2 separate regions of the Homo sapiens genome follow, and region 1 is linked to region 2. The links are contacts of gene promoters, found by promoter capture Hi-C in human tissues and cell types (Jung and others, 2019). All regions are on one chromosome and are shown on one strand. Each heading gives the region's core, a stretch centred on a gene start or on the middle of the fragment in contact. The rest is flanking DNA. Distances are from core to core; before and after follow the strand shown.

Region 1 (2,766 bases), core at 10-2,509, 530 kb before region 2:
GTTAGTAACCTGATTTTTTCGTACCTGTTCTTGTACTCCATCGATCCACCACGGTTTAAACTGTAGAAACTGAGAGGGTGAAAGGGAAGATTTAGCCAAAATTTCCCAGTCATAAGGAATAAGTCTATTTCCATGAACAATGGAATCTAATAATGTTCTCACATAAGGGGAGTTGGGTCCATATTAACTCCTTCCTTCATATCTTTTAACATTTTCATGGTGAAAGATTCATATCTAGCTTCAGTTTGGACAGACGCTCCTGCTAGAGTCCCTTTCCCGGCCGGTATCGGTTGTAAAATTACCGGGAACTCCCATGCCTCAAGATCTCCCTGTTTACTGGCTTTATCAATAATTTCATGCAGTGTACTACCTTGTCCACTAGGTGGTGCGGTAGGATTAAACACCACTGCCGTGGGTTGCTGGTATGGTGCCGTGCTATTTGGCACAGGACACACCACTTGAGGTCTGTATTTAACCTCTGGAGGTGGCCGATACTGAAGGTCGGCTGGCGGCCAGTACTGATAAATTACTGGTGGTTGGGTCTTATTTTCTACCAGCTTATATTGTGGATACTGCATCTGAATTGGCATTGCCGGGATAGAGACTCTATCCTTTTCTACTTGATATTCTCTTGGGGTTTGTACTTGTCTAACCTCCCTTTGAGGTTGTAATGTTACAGGTATCTGAACCACGGGAGGAGTTGATGGCCATCGTGGTTTAGGCTCTGATGGCCCCAATAATTCTGGACCTCCTTCCCCCAATTTTGATTATTCATGATATATTACCTCCTTTAATTGATTGTAGTCAACATTTTGCGTTGACCAAGCCATTACAGACTCTGCTACATATTTACAATGTGAACTTTCCATTCCTTTCCTAAACTCTGTCTCTGCCTCTTCTTCACAATCTATTACACAGCTTTCAGGGGCAGCAGAAATGCTATCTTCTTCTGTTTGAAACGGTTCTAAAGTTGCTTTAATAATGGCCCAATCATTCCATACTGTAAGTAGGATGATTTTACCTTCCCTATTTGCTTGTTTTAATTCTTTGCCAATTTTTTTCCCAATCTTTTAGATCTAAAGTTCTCTGTTCTGGAAACCAGGGGCAAAATTGTTCTATTGTTTGAAATAGCGTAATTAGATTTTCTGTAGAAGCCCTAACTCCCCCTCTTCTTAAAAGAATTTTAATGAAGCTGAGATAAGAGGCATATTTACTTTCAGTTTGTCCCATTGTTACCCTGGGTTCCTCCGAGCACACAAGCTTACCGCAAGGCTGACGGTGGACGTACTCGGGAATCTCTCGTCGACTGTCCTCAATGCTCACGTTCTTAATGTACCTTCACCTTAGAGAAAGGCACCCACATTGGCGGCAGATGAAGGGGTGGCCTGCCCCTCCACACCTGTGGGTATCTCTCGTCAGGTGGGACGAGAGACTAAAAAAAGAAATAAGACACAGAGACAAAGTATAGAGAAAGAACAGTGGGGCCCAGGAGACTGGCGCTCAGCATACAGAGGACCTGCACCGGCCCCCGTCTCTGAGTTCCCTCAGTATTTACTGATTATTATTTTCACTATCTCAGCAAGGGGAATGTGGCAGAACAGGGTGATAGCGGGGAGAAGGTTGGCAAGAAAACATGTGAGCAAAGGAATCTGTGTCACAAATAAGTTCAAGGGAAGGTACTATGCCTGGATGTGCACATAGGCCAGACTCATGCTTCTCTCCACCCAAACATCTCAGTGTAGTAAAGAATAACAGAGCAGTATTGCCACCAGCATATCTCACCTCCAGCCACAGGGCGGTTTTCTCCTATCTCAGAATAGAACGAATGTACAATCGGGTTTTATACTGAGACATTCCGTTCCCAGGGGCATGCAGGAGACAGAGGCCTTCCTCTTATTTCAACTGCAAGAGGCCTTCCTCTTTTACTAATCCTCCTCAGCACAGACCCTTCACGGGTGTTGGGCTGGGGGATGGTCAGGTCTTTCCCGTCCCACGAGGCCATACCTCAGGCTGTCTCAGTGGGGAGAAACCTTGGACAATACTGGCTTTCCTGGGCAGGGGTCCCTGTGGCTTTCTGCAGTGCATTGTGCCCCTGGTTAATCGAGAATGGAGAATGGCGATGACTTTTATCAAGCATACTGCCTGTAAACGTTTTGTTAACAAGGCACATCCTGCACAGCCCTAGATCCCTTAAACCTTGATTCCATACAACACATATTTCTGTGAGCACAAGGTTGGGGCTAAAGTTACAGATTAACAGCATCTCCAGGCAAAACAATTGTTCAGGGTACAGATCAAAATGGACTTTCTTATGTCTTCCTTTTCTATGTAGACCCAGTAACAGTCTGATCTCTCTCTCTTTTCCCTACAAGTTTGGCGTAGGCTGGGTATGGTGGCTCACGCCTGTAATCCTAGCACTTTGGGAGGCTGAGGCGGGCAGATCACCTGAGATCAGGAGTTCGAGACCAGGCTGACCAACATGGAGAAACTCCATTTCCACTAAAAATACAAAAATTGGCCGGGCACGGTGGCTCACGCCTGTAATCCCAGCACTTTGGGAGGCCGAGGCGGGTGGATCACCTGAGATCAGGAGATCGAGACCATCCTAGCTAACACGGTGAAACCCTGTCTCTACTAAAAATACAAAAAAATTAGCCAGGCGTGGTGGCGGGCGCCTGTAGTCCCAGCTACTCGACAGGCTGAGGCAGGAGAATGGCGTGAACCTGGGAGTGGAGCTTGCAGTGAGTGGAGATTGCACCACTGCAC
Region 2 (2,876 bases), core at 251-2,750:
AGGACAACGTATATCAACATTAACAGAAGTTTGGAAGAAGCTGATTCCAACCTTCACGGATGGACCTTCAAGACATCAGTGGAGGAAGTAACTGCAGATGTGATGGAAACAGCAAGTGAATTAGAATTAGAAGTGGAGCCTGGCCAGGTGCAGTGGCTCACACCTATAATCCCAGCACTTTGGGAGGCCAAGGCAAGCGCATCACCTGAGGCCAGGAGTTCAAGACCAGCCTGGGCCAGGTAGCAAGACTCTGTTAATTAATTACTAAAGATTGTGAAATGCAAACCTACATCTCTTAGTTTTTAAAAATAGGAAAATTAATTCTTGACGTTGAGGGATATGGGGCTTCTTACTGAGATTAAGTGGGATAACCATAATTGTCATTTGTTTAGCTTTTCTTCTTCAAGCACTGTACACACCTATGTAAAGGCGGATACCAACACCATGCCTGACAAACATAATAAAATAAAGATGCAGAAGTAACCTGCCCAACATCCCTCTGCTAAAAGCATTCAAACCCAGGTCCGTATAATTATAAAGGTTATGTTCTTCCCACTGCTTCCTTAAAAGATTTATTGGAGGACTACCCTAGGCAAAGCACTTGCCCTAAGCACTCTAAATTAATTATTCAACTCTCTCAACAGTACTTTAGTATTGGTATTGTCCCTGTTGTACAAATAAAGAAGTTGAGGCTCGGCCGGGGTGGTGGCTCACGCCTGTAATCCCGGCTCTTCGGAAGGCCAAGGCGGACGGATCACGAGGTCAGGAGATCGAGACCATCCTTGCCAACATGGTGAAACCCCGTCTCTACTAAAAATACGAACAAAAAAATTGGCTGGGCGTGGTTGCGCGCGCCTGTAGTCCCAGCTACTCGGGAGGCTGAGGCAGGAGAATCGCTTTAACCCGGGAGGCGGAGGTTGCAGTGAACCGAGATTGTGCCACTGCACTCCAGCCTGGTGACAGAGCGAGACTCCGTCCCCCCCCCAAAAAAAAGTTGAGGCTCAAAAAAGTTAGGTAACTTGTCCAAGGTCATGCAGCCCTAGAATAATAAGGGAAAACAGTGTGTCCCAAAATGGCATTATTTGTCCGTGGGGCAGGTATGTTTGAATTTCCATCCATCCATCTATCTATCTGAGACTGGGGTCTCGCTATGCTGCTTGGACTGTTCTCGAACTCCTGGGCTCAGGCCATCCTCCTGGGATCTACCGGCGCGCAGAGACTACGGGCGCGCAGGGACTACCGAGGCGCGCAACCGTGCCCGGCTCCCCACCTCTTCAAGAAATGGAGATTGCAATGCTTGTGCCAACTAGTAAGCTTACACAGTTGTGAGCGAATACTCCACGTGAGAGGTTATAAATGACGTTGCACTAAGGGAGGGATGGATCCTTAACGCAAGTCAGGCCACAAAAGCGTACCAAAACGCAACTGTGCGTCTGCACCAGCGCGCCTGCGTGCAAAGGCCAGCCGAAGCAGAGAGCAGTGCACATGCGTGCAGCTACCAGCATATGGGCGTGGCGAATAGCGCCGGCTAGGTCTTCCAACCTCTAGGTGGGGTGCCAGCCGGGGCGGGCCCAGCACCCCGGCCGGGCAGTACTTTTTTTTTTTTTGCATACACCAGTTCTCAGGATATCGGAATCCGGTGCACAGCAGCTTCTTCAGGTTTGAGGTTCCGGATGCCTGGGGGCGGAGAAACGGGAGGGGAAAAACAGATGGCAAGGTGGGTGACCAGCGTCCAGAAATCCACTGGGGAAACCTCCTCCCGTTTTTACCCTTGGTACCGCGAGAATGGGCGGGGTCTGGCTTCGGGGCGGAAGCGACGGGCGGTCCCGGTTCCAGGGCGGGGCTGGAGACAGGGAGACCCGGCTGGGAAGTGCAGGCAAAGCCGGCTGTTACCCTGCACAGCCGTCACCCTCAACTTTCCCTTCAGGTGAGGCGTCCATGGAACGACTTCTGGCCCAGCTGTGCGGCAGCAGCGCAGCGTGGCCGCTCCCGCTGTGGGAGGGGGACACCACAGGCCACTGCTTCACCCAGCTGGTGCTCAGCGCCCTGCCCCACGCGCTCCTCGCCGTGCTCAGTGCCTGTTACTTGGGCACCCCGAGGTGGGTAGAGACGGGCGCAAGGCATCTGTCCATGTGTGCCTGCAGATCTCACCCGCGGCCTACATCTTCCGGCAGTGTCACCAGAATAGCGAGGTCTCTGGAGTAGGGCAGAAGTAGAATAAAATCTAAGCATTGCTACTTAGCAGCAATGTGGCTGTTCTTGGGCAAGTACCTGCCTTCTCTGAGTCTCATTGTTGGGAGGTTTAAATGAGATAATGAATTTAAGCATATAGTGCAGCGCCTGGCATGTTTTTAAAGGTCCGATGAGTATCAGAAATCATCAGAATTGTCCATTTTCAGCTACCCGGACTCAGCTGTCATGAATTGGAGGCAGAATTGGGGGAACAACGTTTTTAGCCAAAAGCGATGATGTGTTTAAGTTGTAGGCTCAGTTTCTCACCACTGCAACCCATGAAACCTTAGTGTTTCCAGATTAAGAAAAGCATACCTAGGCTCAGCTGAAGAGGAAGCAGTAGATAGACAAGAAGAGCAAAATCAAACATTAAGCCTTCCCCAATTAAGGGCTATAAGGTGTGGATGCTAAACTCAACTTGATTTTGTATTTAGTTCTTGTATGGCTAGAGATGACTAAAGTTAGTCTCATTCTGGCTGCCGAGAAGATAGGAGGACGGTGTGGTCTCTGCCTTTGGGAGTTCCTAGTCTGATGGGGGGAAGTGTCTCTATCCAAGAGGTCTTTCTTGCTTTCTCATTAGACTGAGTTCCCAAAAGACTGTGCCAATTTTTAATAGCTGCTCTTCTGAGAAGGCTGTCTATGCT

The links. Contacts are between HindIII fragments. The study calls those that stand out against the background at their distance.
Region 1: a contact is called between a fragment that was not itself captured here and the fragment with the promoter of ABCC10 in region 2, in 1 of the 25 tissues and cell types used here (psoas muscle).

What each region holds. Positions count from the first base shown.
Region 1 is chr6:42,901,260-42,904,025 of GRCh38, forward strand. No RefSeq gene overlaps it. Among named protein-coding and RNA genes, the nearest start is that of PEX39, 12 kb to the left of the region's middle. RefSeq lists a silencer at 270-499. The HindIII fragment of the contact is 6,837 bases long and covers 1-2,766 here.
Region 2 is chr6:43,426,041-43,428,916 of GRCh38, forward strand. ABCC10 (ATP binding cassette subfamily C member 10) reads left to right here and starts at 1,501. Exons shown (of 22, transcript NM_001198934.2): 1 at 1,501-1,717; 2 at 1,928-2,099. The coding sequence starts at 1,939. RefSeq lists an enhancer at 2,078-2,147. The HindIII fragment of the contact is 15,144 bases long and covers 1-2,876 here.